7 separate regions of the Homo sapiens genome follow, and regions 1, 2, 3, 4, 5 and 7 are each linked to region 6. The links are contacts of gene promoters, found by promoter capture Hi-C in blood cells and fetal thymus (Javierre and others, 2016). All regions are on one chromosome and are shown on one strand. The core of a region is centred on a gene start or on the middle of the fragment in contact, and the rest is flanking DNA. Distances in the headings are between cores, read along the strand shown.

Region 1 (2,700 bases), core at 69-2,568, 2.2 Mb after region 6:
AAGAAACCGTGAAGGGATTCCAAAATATCCAGGGAAATGTCCTGTGTGTACACAGGTCCTGTGAAAACGTCAGTCGCAAGCACAAGGTGGCAGATGCTGCACTCTGATTGGTCAGACGTACTACGCCCAAAGTTAGAGGCCGGCAGTGTGATTGGTGGGTGAGGAGAGCCGAACTTTGGCCAGAGGGAGGGAGGTTAAAACGGAAATAGTGAAAGGGAGCAGAGAAAGGACAAGAGGGACAAAAATAAAGTAAAAGGAGAAGAGAGAGAAAGCAGCAGCAGAAGAAGAGGACTGTGAGAAGAAATGCAATCTTACTAGGGAAAGATTTAATGAGGGGGAATTGGTTTATTGAAAACACCCAGGCTTGTTTTCCTAGGGGCTTCTATGAGAGGACATTTCTGAAACTGAGAATTGATCTCCCCAAGTTGTAAACACTGTCATAGTCCCTGAATGATTTTTGTTTCTTTGTTTTTGGTGTTAATTATTTGTTTTTGCTATTTTCCAGTGCCGCTTGGACTATGATTATCTTAATAATTGTATTTTTAATAAATGTGCCCTTATGTTTTATTTTAAATAAATTGTAAAACTTTCATATCAGTAATTGAATGGAAAGCCAATATTATTTGCCATGAATAAAAGGTAATGACAAAAATAAATAAAACAGAAACAATACCTTAAATTCTATCCAGATCCTAATAACAGAGAAGAGACAGATATAGATCTACATATAGATATATATCCTAGTGTGTTAGGGAGACATTAAATGAGTCTAGGTCTTTAATATAATCTAAAGGAAAAAAAGAGAATCGAAATGAGAAAAAATATTTTCACTTGGTAAGTGAATGTTATTTAATGCCATATCCAAGTAACACCTGAAGTCATTTTTCCTTAGACCTCCAAAAACAGGTGTTACCCATCTCACATTTTAGAAACTGCTGGGTCTATGAGCATTTTATTTCATAGAAAACACCATGCTCTTAATAAATTAAGACATTATTTTCTTAGACCAGCCACCAGTGTTACCAGAATTTAATCTGAGCACCCCTCCAAGAGGCTAATCTCCTCTGGGAGTACTAAGGCTTTATGGGGGCAGGACGAGAACCAGAGTCAGGAAAGGAGCCAACCCGGAAAAATGCTGTCAAGGAGTCACTGGGTCCCTGGATGAGGTCCTCACCACTGCATCTGCCCCTGGCACACACATGGCTTCTGAGCACTTGGAAGTGGCTAGTTTAAACTGAGATGCACAATGTAAAATATGCACCAGATTTTTGAAGACAGTACAAAATTTTTAAATCTCTTATTAATAACTTTATGCTGATTACATATTAAAGCAATTTTTAGATATATTGCATTAAATAAAATATTTAAATTCACTTATTTCTTTTTAACTTTTCAATTATTTTATTTTGAACTAATTTTCAACTTAAAGGAAAAATTGTGTAAGTTCCCACAGTCTTCACCTAGCTTTCCCTTAAGTTAATATCTTACATAACCATAGTACAATGATCAAAACCAATAAATTAACATTGATACATTAGTATAAACTACAAAGTGTACTCAAATTTCACCAATTTTTCCACTGGTGTCCTTTTTTCCCCAGGATCCAACCCAAGATACCACGTTGTATGTAGTTGTCATGTCCCCTTAGTTTCTTCCAATCTATGATGGTTCCTCGGTCTTTGCTTGCATTCATGACCTTGACACTTTTGAAGAGCACTGATCTGTTATCTTGTACCATGTCCCTCAATTTAGGTTTGTGTAGTGTTTTCTCATGATTGGAATGAGTGTGTGCATTTTTGGCAAGAGAAATCACAGACGGAAGTGTCCTTCTCAGATCATTCTATCAAAGGGCTCATGATGTCAATATGTCTTGTTACTAGTGATTTTTACTTTTATTTAATGTGGCTACTACAAAAATTTTAATTACATGTGTGCCTCACATTATAATTCAGTTGGACAGCGCTGGCTGACACCATACTACAGGTAAAATAATAAGCATGTGACTTAAAAGAACATGTTCATAACAAAATATATGGATTTAATCATCGATATTTTCCAGACCCTTTTTATTTCAAAACCTTTTAATACTAATGAACCAAATGTTTATCGAGAGCTTACTCTATGTCAGACTCTTTTCTAAACACTTTGCATGTGCTGAATCATTTAATCCTCACACAACCCGATAAAGTAGATGTTCCTATCATCCCTGCTTTGCAACTGGGGAACCTGAGATGGTAAAGAGGGTTTAAGTGGCGTAAGGCCCTCACACAGCTTGCTAAATGGAAGATCTAGAATTTAAACACAGGAGAATTCCAGAGCCCATGCTTATAACCACTACACTTTTTTTTTTTGAGACGGAGTCTCGCTCTGTCGCCCAGGCTGGAGTGCAGTGGCGCAATCTCGGCTCACTGCAAGCTCCGTCTCCCGGGTTCAAGCCATTCTCCTGCCTCAGCCTCCCTAGTAGCTGGGACTACGGGCGCCCGCCAACACGCCCGACTAATTTTTTGTATTTTTAGTAGAGACGGAGTTTCACCGTAGACAGGATGGTCTCGATTTCCTGACCTCGTGATCCGCCCGCCTCGGCCTCCCAAAGTGCTGGGATTACAGGCGTGAGCCACCGCGCCCGGCACCACTACACTTTTAAAAGTTACATTATCAGTTAATTCAGGGGACCCCAACCCCAGGTACCAGTCTGAGGCC
Region 2 (2,868 bases), core at 87-2,586, 2.2 Mb after region 6:
CTCACACTCATCACCACTAAATGCGGTCACACTCAACTTTCCAGTATTGGGAGGGTCCTGTTACTGGTTGAGATAAATTTACTTTAGGAAATTTAAATACTTCTAAGAGTGTTTATTTAATCTTTACATATTTAAAACATGTAAAAATAAGAAAACATATATGAATATTTCTTCTCCAGTAAAAATTAAATCATCAAATATCTTTTGAGTACCTACTTCATACAAACTACATGGTTTCTTAACCAAGAAGGTCTAGAGAGAGATAAGGTTGAGATTCAATGGATATACTCATCATTTTAAGCCGTGTAACAAACCTGGTGTCAGTCTCTGAAGAGCTGAAAACTGAGGATCTGCATCTGAAACCCACACGTAGGTCAGGCAACAATTAAGTATTGTATGCCAAACAGACTGGTGGCTTTCTTTCTTTCCTTTTCCTTGTCTTTTTTTTTTGGCAATTTCAAACTTTTATTTTTAAATAATTGGCTAATTAGCTAGTAGAATTGATTAAGAGAACCTTAAAACCTTGAATTAAGTAAAGAAGGCATTCTTCCCACAATTTCCCTACATTTTAAACAAGCTGGCTAATTCATTTATAAAGTATATGAATCCGAGGACCTTAAAACCTTGAATTGTATAGCAAAAAAACTCTTCCCAGGATTTGCTTAAGTCAATTTTTTTTAAAGGAACTTGTGAGCTCATCCTGAAACCCAGCTCAAATGTATTCAGGACTATGGCTATCCTTTCCCTCTTAAATCACTTCCAGTCTCATAGAAGGGTCTGAAATTGCCTGTGTCTCTCTACTAAACCAACTCACATGCATTCATGAAGCCCCTACTAAATACCTGGCGCTCTGTTCTGAGCTATCTCTTTGCCTTATTTGCTGCCGCCCAACTGCTCCCTGCTGGCCCTGGAATACAGAGCCAGCCAAGCCAGATTGGAGTTTTACCTTTAACTTCTGGCTTTGCTATAAATCACTGCCTTTGACTGCTGAAACAAATGAAACCCAGGTAGGAGAAACACCTCCTCCATCTTCATGCTCCAAAAGTCTCACTCACCTTTGCAGAAGACAGGGATGAAGAGAAGAAAAAACAGGAGAGTGCAGGGCCAGGTCCTGGTAGCCAGGTTCAGCTGAGCCTTGTGCCGCTGAAATCCAAGGCAAGCCATGGCTTTATGGGAGCGGTGTTCAGGTCTTCAGGAAGTAGAGCAAAACCTTTCAGGATCCTGAAGCTTTGAAATGTGTTTGAACCCACACAGAATCAAGGACTTTATATAGATAGCTTTGATCCCAGATATGTATTACACATGTGCACACACAGAAGGCACTTGAATAGAAAGCCTTTTTGTTTTGGTTTTACGAGAAAGGAAGCCGTGGGTTTAGCTGTTACGTCGAAAAGACAACCTCAAGCACTCAACTGAACAAAACAAGCCAATCCATGGATGGAAAATGTATTCAATTTGAAACTGAAGCTTCATGTTCACTTTGAGGATCTGGATAACTAAGTGGAGACTTGGAGAATTTCCTGGAGTACAAGGGTCCTCCTAAATCCCAATTTTATTCAATCTTCTGGGCATCCTTAACCATCCAGTCCAATTCATTTCATTGACAACTCCAAAACTACTAGGCTGCTAACTTTCTGAGCCCTTGGGCTAATGGCAGGATTTGTCTAGGCATCATTAATAAAAACTGTATTCTATCTGTGAAGCACCATCCTTCTAATGGTCCCTTGACAGCTTTACAAATAAGTTTATTTCTCCTAAATCCATTTAGCATTTGGTTAAGAGAAAAAAACTAAAATCACAAGAAATAAACTGAAAATAGGCGGAAAAGAAGCTGCCTCTGGTTTTGCAGAAGGAAAGAATTCAGGTGTTCTTAAAAGCCTTAACTCAACAGAGACAAAACAGAGTTGAAGAAGGTCCAAAGAAAAGCCAACCCAAATGATTCAAGAGATTAGAGCCGTCCATAAAAGGATAGACTTTTTTTTCTAATACAAATTTTTCAAGCAGAAAATTCAAAAGTGAAGATTAAATATAACCAGAGTCCTTAAATTTGTGACAGCTGTAGACAGGACCAATGATCTAACAAAAAGAATTTGAAACATTGAGGACCTTCCTTAAATCTGGAGAGTTTTCATACATTTTAATAAAGAAAGAAACATTCATGGGGAACCTGTAATATGCCCGGAATTCTGTGCACTTAGGATTGAATGATGACAAAACAAAAACATAGTTGATACCTTAAGGGGCTTCTAGAAGGCTGACATGCAAACAGACAGTTGTAACAGGGAATATGACATTTGCCTACTCCAGTCCGTCCATGGTTTCCCATTGTCCACACCTCAGCACAGCAGAGGAGACTCTGCAGAATACTCACCAAATGCCTCCCTCTTTGGCCTGTACCCCAGCATTCCCTCCCATTCCCCCTTCCTGCATTTGTCTTTCCTTCCACGTGCCTCTTTCAGGCCTCATCACCTTTACCCATGCTGTTCCTACTGCCTTTTTTCTCCTATTATCTTATTTTATACTCCTTCTCATCCTCCAGGACTTAGCTCAGCTGTCATCTCCTCCAGGAAGCCTCTTCTTTTTTTTTTTAAAATTTTATTATTATTATACTTTAAGTTTTAGGGTACATGTGCACAACATGCAGATTTGTTACATATGTATACATGTGCCATGTTGGTGTGATGCACAGAAGCCTTTTCTGACCTGCCTGTTTTCTATACACTGCTACACATTATAGAAACCTTCAAGCCCCAGCTCAAGCGCCAACAAGCAATAACAACCTAATGGGCACTTCCTAATGCCAGACTGGGCAACAGAGGTTTTTTAAAAAGTGAAAAACAAATGTTCCTGCCCTCAAGAGGAACACAC
Region 3 (2,700 bases), core at 116-2,615, 2.2 Mb before region 6:
GCTGTTGTAAAAGCTAATGGGGTTCTGGGTGACAGATAATGGGATTCTGAACTCTGTAGTAGTTTAGGTGGAAAAAAAAATGAGCAGACAGAAAGATCTTCACAATAACAAAAATAACATGAGAGAGATGTTAGGAGTTTTGTTTTTCAGGTAATTTCTGACTATCTTCTACTCCCAAATCACTGTATAAATCAACATACCATTGTTCAGTTTTTTCTGTTTCAAGAAATAACTTAAATTTTCTGTACTGCTGAAATTTGACTATGTTCCTTATGGAGGAATCTGAGTAAGACACAATTCACTGCCAAAGCACAGTGTCATGTAATTACGTCAAGGAAGATCTGTCCTTTTAAAATGAAAACTCTCATAGTGATTTAAATTAGTAATCTACTCTAACGATCTTGTCTAATAAATTTTAATGTTCCTATAGTTTTTTGCTAGCATCTACAATAAATACACTTTTACTCTAGTTATTTATGATAAGTCCCATCTACTGTATTATTCAATAGGAAAGTTCTTAAAAGCAAAGCTGTCTCCCTCACCTTTGTGTCCCCATGTCTTACACATAAAACCCAAAATGAAAATTGGCTTAACACTATCCTGTATTATAAGTGTCTTATAGTTATGACCTTTAAAAATTGTAAACTGGCAATAAAATGCATTTACCTGTATAGCCCATAAATTTTCCAGGGATTTCTTGATTACAGCAACGACTGCAGAAAATCTGCCCACATAGTCGGCAATGGTGTCTGCGCCTAAAGGTTGTAAATTTCTCACTACAGTCATAGCACTCTTTACATTGGCTATCTGGCATCCAGTATTGTTTCAGGTCACTATCCTATAACAATAAAAATGTGTGAAGGCTTCTTGAAAATACTGATTATTAATATGCAATGGCAAATGAAATCCTCAAAGGTTTCTTTTGCAGAAAACAAACTAATTCAAAAATTCATATGGGAATACGAAAGGTCAAAATAACCAAGACAATCTTGAAGAAGAACAAATTGAAGGACTTAATATTACCAGCCATCAAGACTTATTCTTAATGCTACAATAATTTTAGACAGGGTACTGGTACAAGGATAGAAAAAAATAAAGGTATGGAACAGAAAAAGAGAGCCCTGACACACCCTCACACATATATGGACTTACGGTGGAATTTATAATGCAATCAGTGAAAGATGGTCTTTTCAAAAACAATGGTACTATATCCAACTGGACATCCATGAGGAAAAATGGAAGCCTGACCCCTATACTTGACAGAAATAATAAAGCTTCTTGAAGAAACCATAGGAGAATATCTACTGCCCTGAACTAGATAAACACTTCTTAAACAGAACGCGAAAAGCACTAAGGATAACGGGAAAAAAACTGATAAATTAGACTACAATAAAATTAAGAACTTATGTATAAAAATAGGGTGCTCACAGCTGGAGGAAGCGCTAATTAAGCTTTCTTTCAGTGGCATTAAGCCATTTTCATTAGGTATGGCATGATCCCCATAAGCGCTTAATAAGTAATCTTCCAAAGCCTCTAGACAGTACCTGGCTTTTCCCCTCCATGATTTCCTTGAGGCGTTTTAATACTGTGCTGAGGCTTCGAAGCTGAACAGCTGTACGAGGGTCATGACCTCCAAAGGTAGGTTCTGCTTTCCTTCTTGTGTCTGAGTTGGATTAAAAAAAAAGCAACCTTGTTAACAGTCCCTAGTATCTATATACAACAAGGTATATATGTGATGGAAACTGCCTCTTATTGTTGGCATATAATTATGTTCTCCCACCCGGTTATATGAATTGAGAGTTAAAACAAGTCTTTATAAGGGTAAGAGGCTACTGAAAGTATTTCTTCTCATGTAAAATGCTGTTTTACAAGCGAGTCAAGGCTGCCTAAGACAAGCATTGTCTGAGACCATTGATGGTTTTCAGGCCTGGAATGGGAACATCACTTAAATGGTCCAAAATTCATTAATGACTCCTTAAGCCCTTTGGTCCAACCTATAATAAATGCATGCTAGAAATTTAGCAGAAGAAAAAGCAATCAAGGAGGGTTAACTTAGCTTGGTCTCTAAAGTCAAACAGGTAAGCAATAGGATCAAACAGTTCAGTTCTGTCTATATCTGTAGACCATATATCCAAAGTCTCATACAGAAGATGATCAGAAAGAAGTTTAATAGCCCAGCCTTCAAAGATTCTGACAGACTTCACAACATCCAGGATGGCAAATTTTGCCATGGTAAAACCTGACCTATGTCCAAGCAAATTAAAACTGCCAGAAAATTGCTAAAACTCCAATCCTATCCTTCCCTGTCACTTCCCCAACCCCACAGCTCCAAATAGGAAAGGATCATTTATACCTGACATAGCAATACTGAAGCCAAATCTATCACTAATAAGCCCAAATTCCAGCCTCATGGCCAAAATAGGGTATGCCCACCAAAGTTGTCACTTATTATTTCCTTAATTTAGACCAAAATTACAACTGAAGTTTCTGCCTATTTCTGGCAGTTACAAAACCTAAGCATGAAGCAAAGACGTTTTGACAAAAAGGATGAACATCCTATTAGCTTAAACCCATCAAACTGATAACCTATGGCAAAGTAAACTGGAAAATACCCCACTCTGAATCTTCCTCAAACTCACCATTTGCTAGATAGGTGCTGTTTTGGCTGGGAGGGAAAAAAAAGAATTACAAAGAAATGAG
Region 4 (2,700 bases), core at 2-2,501, 2.2 Mb before region 6:
ACACTGAAAAGTACCTGCAGTGGTCTATACAGCGCATACTCATCTCTGAAAAGCTGGTCGTGATGACTAACACAATCCAGCCAACGTCCATCAACCATTGCTTGTCCAATTGCTATAGCTTGTGCCCTGAATCAAGACCCACAAAAATGAAAAGTTTTAAAAGTCAGTCAGAATAGTTAAGTACCAGATAAGACACAACCTTAAAATATTTTTTTTCAGTTCTAATCAGAGTTAGAATTTCAAATGGCCCTTGGATAAGTAAAGGACGAAACGAGAGAGTTAAAGCAAACTAAAAGATTCTTCCAGGTACTATAGTAAAGGAGAAGAAACTACTGGTAAGGCAGTCCCAACAAAACCTAATTTTAATAACAGCAAGCATTGACTGAGTATTCAATGCACGCACAACCCTATACTTAACAGATTTTAAAATGTTGAGAAAAGCTCCTACCTTCAAGGAGCTTAGTTTTAATAAGACAATACCAAATATTACAGATACAGCCATAAAATGTGTGTGTGTGTATATATATATATGAAATAGACACTTAATGACACCATACATTATATGGCATTTCACAATTTATAAAGCACTTCAGCCACTATTATTTCATCCCCCACAGTTTATTCACAGGACCACACAATTTTCCTCATGGTGAAGAAGTCTCAGAGATTGAATAATGTGACTAAAAGCACAAAGCTAAAAAATATATACAGCCAAAATTGCAACCAGGGCTTTACTGCTTAAAGCTATTTCTCTCTTTACTTCATTACGTACCTTTTTCTTCCCATGAGAGGAGGAGTAGCTAATCTGAGAAAATAGTAAAAGCTAGGGGATACATGTATTTGAAAAGCAGGACCTGTCTGTTACTCTTTTTTATAAATGATTTGTGAGGCAAGCTAGGACCCGACAGGCATAGCTTATGGATCAAATACTCAACACAGGTTACAACCTGTCTAGATTAGTGAACAGTAGCTGGGGAATTCTTTGGCCTTAGGTTCCAGCTACCTTCTCTAATCCTCCTTTGCTAGAGAGTTCTTCTGCTTTTAATAAGGTAAATTAAGATCCTATTTGGCTCCTTGTACTCCTTGCATCTGTTCTCTGCTGGTTAAAACTCAGATTGGAGGAGGGTTAAGTAATTAGCACCCTAAACCATCAATTACATAAAACAAAGAGCACCCTAACTCTACAAAGAAATCTGTAACTCTTACTATCTTCAAATATGTTTTCTCATTCAAAATAAACAAATAATATTGAAACCTTCTAAGATCAGAATACCTTGTGGCAATATGCCCATTTCGGATTAGCCAGTTGACTAATTCCTTTCCTACAATGCAGTTGGGATGCGTTCTCAACCAGTAGCGGTGATCCTGAAACTCCATTCCACTGCTGTGATGGCAGATTTTTTTCCACAGGTCTTTTAACTGCACACTGTCCTGCAATCACATTAACAGCAAGTAGTTACCCTTGAGAAAAATGCTATATACCTTTTCAGATGTTTTCCTGTGATTTTTAGACTCATAAAAGGAAACCTAACTTGGATTTCTTTATGGTAGCTAACTCACACAATTTAATACAAATGTCATATACGTGGGAACAGCTTGAACTCTGCTCATCTAATTCCAAACATAACTTTTTCTCTTGAAAACCAACTATTCCAAATACTTCTTTTTTCAGTCAATGGCACATATTATCAATCTCCTATTTATGTATTCTTCTTTGGAGATGGGGCAAGGCAGAGGGAGACAACAGTTAATCACACTAACCTAAGGTAACTGTTCCTAGAGGCTTTCACTCCACCAGATTCTCACTGTGTACCCAACTGACAGATGAGTTTTTTAAAAAGAAGAGCTTCAGTAAATTACTCCCTGCTCAAAAAAATTCTGAATGTTCCTCAGCAACTAAAGTTTCAAATCTACACCTGTAAGTACAGAATTCATTGCCTTCCACCAGGTAGTCCCAAATAACTTTCCTTTCTCATTGCCCCCAGACTCCTACTTAAACTCTCTCCCAATTAAAAAATCCTACTTCTGGCCATGGAAAATGTCATGCTTATTCTTACCTCTGTATCTTTCTTCACACCTTTAAATAAGATTCACCTTCCTCACTGCCTATCCAAAATGATTCCATCTCTCAAGGTCCAGTTCAAGTCCTTCAGTTTAAGCCTTTTTCTGATTCCCTCATTAGTAATGAGCTTTCTGTTTTTTTGAATTCTTACATGACATATAGTCATTTATTTATTTGACACTTTTTTATTATTAAAGTATTACTACTTCCACTATTAAGGATCTTCCCACTGATCTTATTTCTACCTTTTGTGGGTTTGCTGGTTTGTTTGTTGTCTTAGAGACAAGGTCTTGCTATGTTGCCCAGGCTGGAGTGCAGTGGCTATTCACAGCCATGATCACAGCACCCTACAGCCTCAAACCCCTGGCCTCAAGAGTCCTCTCACCCTAGCCTCCCAAGTAGCTGGGACTACACGTGCATGCCACCACACCTGGCTCTTATTTCTACTTTTGAATTATAAGCTTGAGGACACAGCCATACCTTCCATTTCTCTGAGTCACTCTTAGAATTGAACACAGTATTTTATGCACAGATAAATTCAATAAGCAACTGATTATTTCATATAAACATATAGTATTAAATGTCTGAAAAGTGTTACATGTGTATAACAAACATGCTTCAAAGCTTAAATAGCAATA
Region 5 (2,700 bases), core at 61-2,560, 2.8 Mb after region 6:
CAAAAATTCAAGAACCACTAAAATTGTTTAGTTTCTCAGAAAATAAGATTTCAGGAAGTCCCTGATTGTGTAGTTGCAAGATTCTAGTCTAATCCATTTACCTGCTCGGAAAAGAACATTTAAGAAGGTGTATGGTCAATTCCAGCAGTTCAGCTACTTTTCAACTTTCACTGTAAAACCACCACCTTGCTTTGTAGAACAGGTGTTTTTTGTTTGTTTGTTTGTTTGTTTTGAGATAAGAGTCTGGCTCTGTCGCCAGGCTGCAGTGCAGTGGTGCGATCTTGGCTCACTGCAAGCTCCGCCTCCCAGGTTCAAGCGATTCTCCTGCCTCAGCCTCCTGAGTAGCTGGGATTACAGGCGCCCGCCACCACAGCCAGCTAATGTTTGTATTTTTAGTAGAGACGGTGTGTCACCATGTTGGCCAGGATGGTCTCGATATCCTGACCTCGTGATCCGCCCGCCTCAGCCTCCCAAAGTGTGTAGAACAGGTTTTAAAGACGGTCCTCAGTCATCAACACTTTTGTTTTCAGACCCTCCCTCTCTCGCTGACGGAGGCAAGTGGAGAGAGGAGGACCGGAGGCTCGCAGAGGCGTCAGCGGCAGAGGAAACCTCGCACCCGAACCCGCAGCGCGGCGCTCTCCCCAAAGAAGCATTTGCCTGGAGCCCCTAAGAGGAGCAAGACCTGGACCTCGAGCACTTTGGATTCCAGTCAGGATAGATCGATGGACAGATGGAAAAGAGGAATACACAAGTGCTGGGAGAATCCTCAAGAAAGGAGAAAGGAGTGGCGCGCCCAGGAGTCTCGTCCTGACACACTGGGAAATGAAATTTGGGTTTGGCGAGTTATGGCCAAAAAGCTGCCCAAAGTACTTGAGAGCCGCCTTGGAGAGTGGCGCGGGGTGCCTGGCAAGGTGAGACCGGCCTGCGGGGGCGCGGGCTTTTCCTCAGCAGCTCTACGCCCGCCTGGCCCGGCGCCTGAGGGGTAGCGACGCAGCCCACGTCGCTCTCAGAGCTTGCCGGGAGGGGCGTCACGTGACTCCGGGTGCGGTCCCCGCGCTGAAGCTCTGGAGCGAACCCGAACCCTCCTCTCAGGCCCGCCCCCTGCGGCCCGCAGCGGGCAGGTTGGCCTGGATGCCGGCGACAGAGAGACTGGGGCGGCGCCCGGGGCCCCAGAGAGCCAAGACGGCGCTCACCGGATAGAGGTAGAGCACGGCTCCCACCAACGCCAGCAAGAAGGTAACGGCGAAGATCGCGAAGTCCAACATGGTTCTGCCGCCCAGGGAGCCACGTCTCGGATCGGCCGCTCCAGCAGCAGCGCCTCAGCCTGGCCCAATTTAAGGCATAGCGTGTGGGCGGGGGCACCCCGCGGGACCCGGAAACCAACGGGCCGCTGGGGGCGTGACCGAGGCCTGCGGCCGGCGCCAGAGGAAAGAGCAATGGATCGCCGAGGAGCCGGGGCGCGGGTTCCTGAGCGCAGCAGGCCGAGGCTGAGGCCGCCTAGCGCCAGCCTCCACCGCAAGGCGGGGATTTCGGTGCACACGATTTCAGACAGAATATGCCCGCGACTTCGGACCGGGTTGCTGGCGAAAGCAGAGCCCAGCTTTCTGAGAAAAGTTAGGAGTTAGTAGTGCTCTGTCCGCCCAACAGTTTTCGCAATGGATTCAGAATTAAAACCTCTAAACCGATGATTTTCGAAGAGTGGTCCCGGTACCAGCTGCATCAACGTCGCCCGGGAGCTCGTTAGAGATTCAGATTATCGATGCCGGGCGCGGTGGCTCCACCTGTAATCCCAGCACCTTGGGAGGCTGAAGCGGGAGGATCGCTTGAGCCCAGGAGTTTGAGACCAGCGTGGGCAACATAGTGAGACCCCAGTCTCTACAAAAAAAAAAAAAAAAAAAAAAAAAAAATTAGCCTACAGTGGTGGCGCTTGCCTGTGGCCCCAGCTGCTCCGGAGGCTGAGGCTGGAGGATCACTTTAGCCGGGGAGGCAGAGGCTACAGTGAGCCGAGATGGCACGACTGCACTCCAGCCTGGGCGACAGGGCGAGACCCTGTCTCAAAAACAAAACAAAACAAAACAAAAGGAAAACAAAATAAAAAGATTCTCGATCCCAAACTAGACCTACTGAATCAAACACTCGGGGTGGGCAGGGGTAGGGGGCGCGTACAACAATCTGTTTGAACAGAGCCCTCCCGGGGACACTGTTACACACTTAAATTTGAGTGAAAACCACCACTGATCTAAGCGGGACAGGGAAGTGTCTGGGAGTAAAACAAGAGTAGATACGCCTTGTTTCGCAGAATTTCTGTCTGAAGTACTAGTAAATGTGATTCTTTGACACTTTCTGGTGAGCGGAGGCTGCACACTGTTCAGGTTTCCTTGCTCTGTTAACTCTGACTTTCGGTAAATTGCTTCAGTTTTCTAAGCTTCCATTTCCTTCTATGTAAAAAAGTGAAAATAATACCACATGGAGTTGCCTGTAGGTTAAATTACATATTTTATGAAAATCACTTAGCACAGCTCCTGGCAAAACCGAATAAGTGCTATCTACGTCAGCATTTGGCGTTTGTTGCCCTGGGCATAAAATACCCTAGGACCCCTCTTTCTATTTCGCCTGGCTCAGAAGTTTTGACGTGGCTACTGAAATACAAGACAAGGCCTGCTACTTACTAGTGCTGCTTTTAGTGAAAGTGTGCTAAAA
Region 6 (2,700 bases), core at 92-2,591:
TTAGTCAACATGTGTTAGAAAAATAACTTTTAATACAAGATTTAAATCATCATCCCCAGTAGAACATACAAAGATAGTCGGTTCTTTTTCTATTATTTTTCTCTTTCTTCACAAAAATAGAAAAATGTCTCTGCAATTTATCCTCCAATAAGCGTTCTATTGGAATCGATGTAAATGGGTACCCTTTGTCCCTCTCACCTCTGTGCTAACAGCATTGTTTAACTCTGATCCCATTTATCTAGTAAGCTTTGCTCATTTAAAAAAGTAAATTCATGACATCCACTGCAATATACAAAAAGTCTATCATACAGGCTGGCAGCACATTGGAAGTTCTGAACTAACATAACTAACAAAAATAGCCACATTTCTCAATTCTGTGACACAAAAAGCAGATAGCAACATGTGTAATGCACCAAAGATCTAGCTAGAGTTTAAAGAATCTAAATAAATAAAAAAATTAAATGCCCGGATATAATTCTTAATAAGCTATTTTACCTCAAGAAAAATCTAAGGCTGTCTTTAAAATCTCTTTCCAGTTTTACTGTATCCTTTCTGTATGGGCAGCATAACAGAATTTCCAGAAACAGGGGCCGTTTTTAAATCCCCAGTGATAGCTGCCTTTATCTGCACTGTGGAAAATGACACACTGTATCATGCCTTTCTGGACAGTCCATAGGTTTTATTTACATTGCTTTGAGAAACAGACGAAAGACATGTTTTTTTACAATTGTCTTACAGCAATCTGTTCTGAGAGTAACATGTAACACAAATTTTTATATGCAATATATGAAAACATAAATATTTATATATACAATAACATAACCAGACAAATAAATGAAGTTACTATTAAGTCTCTTTAAGTATAAATTTACAAACTGACCACCAGCCACAGAACTTAGCCCTGTAATGGAGAAAAATTATTACTGGCTTAAAAAAATATTAAAATATCACTGTCACTAACATGAAAAAAATTAAAAACAGAAAATAAAAAACAATAACCACCGGAAAACCTGTGTCTTGTAAAGATTTCTTTCCATCAGAAGATGCAGAAACATTTTTCCCCCTGGAGCAAATGAAAACGTTTCTCATGCACCCCCCGTTTCTTCCCTGCTTTCTCCCCCAGGCGCGGGTGTAGACGGCCGGTGTGGACTTTTTTCCAGAGATGAGAAGTAAAAATTTGTACTTTATCGGGAGCGGGTGCACTTTTCCCCCTGGCCCCCCTTTGCTCTGCCTCCAAGATGGTAGGAAAGTTGTCGTTTCGGAGGGCAGAGGAGCAGCTCTCTGGTGTTATGTCCTCGCAGTGCCTGTAGTGGTGCTGTAGGAGGCTGCTGCCTCTTCTTGTACAGCCCCGGCAGCCCTGCCTTCTTGGCTGGAGAGTATATTCAGGGATTTCCCCTTAATAATCACCGACCCTGGGAGCACTTTTTAGTTTCCAAAATAAAAATATGATCCTCACCCCTCTTGCTTGACAGGGAAAGGCTCTCGCCGGAGCCCAGGGGGGAGCAGTAGCAGCGGCAGCCGAGCTTCCTAGTCCATTGCCAGCGCCTCTCACTCTGATCTGTCAGCCCAGCCGAGGGAACAGGGGGGAAGGAGAAAAAAAAAAGCAGCTGAAAGGTAAGCAGAGGCGGCCCCAGGCCCGGCCCACATCCCCGGGCTCCCGTAGGGCGGCGGGCTGGGCCGCGCAGGCTGGGCGGGCGGCGAGCGCGCTTACGTGAGGCCGGGGATTCGCCGGCCCACGCCAGGCCCCGGGCGGAGAATGAAAGGGTGAGTGGGGCCGGCGCCCGGGTGGTGGAGGCCGGGGGCCTGAGGGCCTCCGGGGCGCCCGCGGGCGGCGACGGCGGGCGGGCAGGGGTCCAGCCGGAGCCGGAGTGGGGCGAGCGGAGCGGCCTGCGCGGGCCAGGTGGGGGTGTGCGGCGGGAGGGGGGGGCGCCGGTAGGCCTCGGGCCGGTAGGCCCCACGGCAGCCGCGCCCTGCCCCCGCACCCCGGGCCTCCGCGCGCCCCCTCGAGTCCCCCGGGGTCTCCGGGTGGGACGGCGGCGCTGCTGGGCCGAATCCCGCGCCGGCCCGGAGGCTTTCCCGCGGGGCGGCAGGCCCGGGCTGCCGGGACAGGGGCGTCAGGGCCTAGGAGTGGGGAGTGGGGAATGGGCGCCCGGCTCCCCTTCCCCCGGGTCTCTCGCAGACGGCCCCCAGATTCCGGTAAGAGTTGAATTTATTTATCCCCCTCCTCCGCGCTCCGGACGGCCAGGCCGGGGCGGGGCGGGGCGGGCGGCCTGGCGGGCGTGGGGTCGGGTGGAGGGGCGGTGAGGAGTCAGGTGCAGCCGCGGCCCAGAAAGTTTCCTTTTAGGCCCGAACTGGGGGCCGCTGTCTCTCCGGGGAGCCCTGGTCCTAGCGCCCGGGACCCCCCAGGGCGTGGGGGAGCGCACTCGGCTATTTTGAAACTCTTTGCCAGTTCCTGTCCATTGAAGAAGGTACTCCGCCCCTGCACCCCTCGCCCGCGCCCCACCCAACTCCCCGCGAGCCCATTCGGGGCTGCTAACTCCAGCCCCTTCCCCCTAGAGCCCCCCAGGTTGGGGAGAGGGCCTTCTCTTCCGGTTTGGAAAAGTTTGCAAGGGGCTTTTCTTAGCTTTATTAGTTAGTGACTGGGTTTTTGGGGTGGGAAGGAGGAGGTAAACTCAGGTGGTGTTTCTGCCGGACAATCTT
Region 7 (2,700 bases), core at 143-2,642, 2.2 Mb before region 6:
ATAAATATTAGGATCTCCTTAACTCGAGCCAGCTCATAATCAGAGCCTCCTCTTAGCTTGATTGTACAGCCTAGGTGCTGTGGACAACCTTCAAAAAACATCAGTGTCTTGGTTTGTTCTACAAACAAAAACAAACAGAAAGTTAAGATGGTGGAGGTGGCAATCCAGAAGTACAAATAGAATTAATTCACTCTCTTAATATCTGTAAAAGAAAAACTCTTACATGAATAAGATCACAGTTGCCTATCCTCACTTACCCACTATTAATAGGTATTTCCTAGTAAGTAAACATTGTAGTAGTGATAAGTTAACTCTTTTCCTCAGGTCAATCTATGCTAAAGATCACTCACCATTAGGCAACTGAAATATCTGCATATAAAATTTGTGACAAGTGCCCAGGTGTGGTTTCGTAAGCAGCTGGTCCATTGACATCACTAAATCACCTTGGGTCATTCGACTGATTCGTTCCAAAACTTGCTACAAAACAGAAAAACATTGTATTACAAAACTAGAGAAGAATAAAAATCTTTGTAAATTTAATCTGGAAAAGTAATGGAAAAATTAAAAAATAACATTCACAAATTTCCTTTTTAATAAATATATGATGAATTTTTTTATTCTGGATTCTTCTACACTTAGTTGCTTAGTAATCAATATATGCCCACTGAAACCTTACTCATATTAATAACATTATAAAAATGCACTTAAGCATCATGGATTACCACAAGATAATGTGGGGAGAAAAACAACTTCCTAGAATTGGCCCCTGTTCTGCACAGGGTAAACTTTTCAAGGGAGAGAACGTCTTCTGCTTGAGCAATTCTCCAACAAAAATGAAGGATCAACAAATACCTAGTGATTAACTAATGTCCATTTCACTTTTGGTCTTGTAGACACCAATAAGTATTACATAATCAATTATACTTTCTTCCAGTTCCAGTCTGAAATTCTGAATCTTAATGAAATAGGTGCCATATCTTCTGTCCCACTTTCAATACAAATAGAACAGCAAAGAAAAAAAGATTCTTGTATACCTACCATACGTGCATATAAATTTAAAAGCTGTGATTTTTTTAAAATACAATAGAAAATTAAAAACACTCACTGACTTTACATTAATGACCAAAGTAATGCCATGTTCCAATAACATGTCCTGGGCAATCCGAGACACTGTTTTCTCAACAAGAACCAAGGTGGGTCGAACATCAACTATTCGCTGGACATAATTCTTCAAGAATTCCCTTTCCTAAGTAAGATAAATCAGAAATATTACACCTGGTAAAATGCAGTATCTGGACATATTAAAATATCATCAGAGTGAACAGGCAACCTACAGAATGGGAGAAAATTTTTGCAATCTACTCATCTGACAAAGGGCTAATATCCAGAATCTACAAAAAACTCAAACAAATTTACAAGAAAAAAACAAACAACCCCATCAAAAAGTGGGCGAAGCACATGAACAGACACTTCTCAAAAGAAGACATTTATGCACCCAACAGACACATGAAAAAATGCTCATCATCACTGGCCATCAGAGAAATGCAAATCAAAACCACAATGAGATACCATCTCACACCAGATAGAATGGCAATCATTAAAAAGTCAGGAAACAACATGTGCTGGAGAGGATGTGGAGAAATAGGAACACTTTTACACTGTTGGTGGGACTGTAAACTAGTTCAACATTGTGGAAGACAGTGTGGTGATTCCTCAGGGATCTAGAACTAGAAATACCATTTGACCCAGCCATCCCATTACTGGGTATATACCCAAAGGATTATAAATCATGCTGCTATAAAGACACATGCACAAGTATGTTTATTGCGGCACTATTCACAATAGCAAAGACTTGGAACCAACCCAAATGTCCAACAATGATAGACTGGATTAAGAAAATGTGGCACATACACACCATGGAATACTCTGCAGCCAGAGAAAAGGATGAGTTCATGTCCTTTGTAGGGACGTGGATGAAATTGTAAATCATCATTCTCAGTAAACTATCGCAAGGACAAAAAACCAAACACCACATGTTCTCACTCATACATGGGAATTGAACAATGAGAACACATGGACACAGGAAGGGGAACATCACACTCTGGGGACTGTTGTGGGGTGGGGGGAGGGGGGAGGAATAGCATTAGGAGATATACCTAATGCTAAATGACGAGTTAATGGGTACAGCACACCAGCACGGCACATGTATACATATGTAACTAACCTGCACATTGTGCACATGTACCCTAAAACTTAAAGTATACTACTACTAATAATAATAAAATAAAAAATAAAATAAAAATAAAAAAGAAAATGTGGCACATACACACCATGGAATACTCTGCAGCCATAAAAAAGGATGAGTTCATGTCCTTTGTAGGGACATGGATGAAGCTGGAAACCAACATTCTCAGCAAACTATCACAAGGACAAAAAACCAAACACCGCATGTTCTCACTCATAGGTGGGAATTCAACATTGAGAACACCTGGACACAGGAAGGGGAACATCATACACGGGGGCCTGTCATGGGGTGGGGGAGGGGGGAGGGATAGCATTAGGAGATATACCTAATGTAAATGACAAGTTAATGGGTGCAACACATGAACATGGCATATGTATACATATGTAACAAACCTGCACATTGTGCACATGTACCCTAGAACTTAAAGTGTAATAAAAAAAATATATATATATATA

The links. The method cuts DNA at HindIII sites, captures the fragments that hold promoters and counts their contacts. A CHiCAGO score of 5 or more calls a contact.
Region 1: a fragment that was not itself captured here is called in contact with the fragment with the promoter of INO80D in region 6 in 1 of 17 cell types (M2 macrophages); the score reaches 6.1 in M2 macrophages.
Region 2: the fragment with the promoter of CTLA4 here is called in contact with the fragment with the promoter of INO80D in region 6 in 6 of 17 cell types (naive CD8 T cells, total CD4 T cells, activated CD4 T cells and 3 more); the score reaches 12.1 in naive CD8 T cells.
Region 3: a contact is called between a fragment that was not itself captured here and the fragment with the promoter of INO80D in region 6, in 3 of 17 cell types (non-activated CD4 T cells, total B cells and total CD8 T cells). The highest score is 6.6, in non-activated CD4 T cells.
Region 4: a fragment that was not itself captured here is called in contact with the fragment with the promoter of INO80D in region 6 in 1 of 17 cell types (monocytes); the score reaches 5.3 in monocytes.
Region 5: a contact is called between the fragment with the promoter of CYP20A1 here and the fragment with the promoter of INO80D in region 6, in 9 of 17 cell types (total CD8 T cells, total B cells, non-activated CD4 T cells and 6 more). The highest score is 11.7, in total CD8 T cells.
Region 7: a fragment that was not itself captured here is called in contact with the fragment with the promoter of INO80D in region 6 in 1 of 17 cell types (total B cells); the score reaches 7.0 in total B cells.

The regions. Positions count from the first base shown.
Region 1 is chr2:203,911,564-203,914,263 of GRCh38, reverse strand. No RefSeq gene overlaps it. Among named protein-coding and RNA genes, the nearest start is that of ICOS, 24 kb to the left of the region's middle. The HindIII fragment of the contact is 3,373 bases long and covers 1-2,700 here.
Region 2 is chr2:203,866,239-203,869,106 of GRCh38, reverse strand. CTLA4 (cytotoxic T-lymphocyte associated protein 4) reads right to left here and starts at 1,336. Exons shown (of 4, transcript NM_005214.5): 1 at 1,056-1,336. The coding sequence starts at 1,164. The HindIII fragment of the contact is 240 bases long and covers 1,230-1,469 here.
Region 3 is chr2:208,275,675-208,278,374 of GRCh38, reverse strand. PIKFYVE (phosphoinositide kinase, FYVE-type zinc finger containing) reads right to left here. Exons shown (of 42, transcript NM_015040.4): 4 at 1,545-1,663; 5 at 667-838. Among named protein-coding and RNA genes, the nearest start is that of PIKFYVE, 11 kb to the right of the region's middle. The HindIII fragment of the contact is 177 bases long and covers 1,277-1,453 here.
Region 4 is chr2:208,299,668-208,302,367 of GRCh38, reverse strand. PIKFYVE (phosphoinositide kinase, FYVE-type zinc finger containing) reads right to left here. Exons shown (of 42, transcript NM_015040.4): 9 at 1,274-1,431; 10 at 15-126. Among named protein-coding and RNA genes, the nearest start is that of PIKFYVE, 35 kb to the right of the region's middle. The HindIII fragment of the contact is 2,548 bases long and covers 1-2,525 here.
Region 5 is chr2:203,237,628-203,240,327 of GRCh38, reverse strand. CYP20A1 (cytochrome P450 family 20 subfamily A member 1) reads right to left here and starts at 1,310. Exons shown (of 13, transcript NM_177538.3): 1 at 1,194-1,310. The coding sequence starts at 1,265. RefSeq lists enhancers at 590-879, 703-1,274, 1,560-1,609 and a silencer at 1,280-1,489. The HindIII fragment of the contact is 4,599 bases long and covers 1-2,427 here.
Region 6 is chr2:206,084,815-206,087,514 of GRCh38, reverse strand. INO80D (INO80 complex subunit D) reads left to right here and starts at 1,341. Exons shown (of 11, transcript NM_017759.5): 1 at 1,341-1,614. INO80D-AS1 (INO80D antisense RNA 1) reads right to left here. Exons shown (of 2, transcript NR_186084.1): 2 at 11-1,558. RefSeq lists enhancers at 1,085-1,194, 1,205-1,254, 759-1,578, 1,305-1,594 and silencers at 1,645-1,854, 1,935-2,104, 2,125-2,324, 2,365-2,414, 2,316-2,610. The HindIII fragment of the contact is 4,007 bases long and covers 249-2,700 here.
Region 7 is chr2:208,322,688-208,325,387 of GRCh38, reverse strand. PIKFYVE (phosphoinositide kinase, FYVE-type zinc finger containing) reads right to left here. Exons shown (of 42, transcript NM_015040.4): 18 at 1,106-1,246; 19 at 351-477; 20 at 1-118. Among named protein-coding and RNA genes, the nearest start is that of PIKFYVE, 58 kb to the right of the region's middle. The HindIII fragment of the contact is 5,563 bases long and covers 1-2,700 here.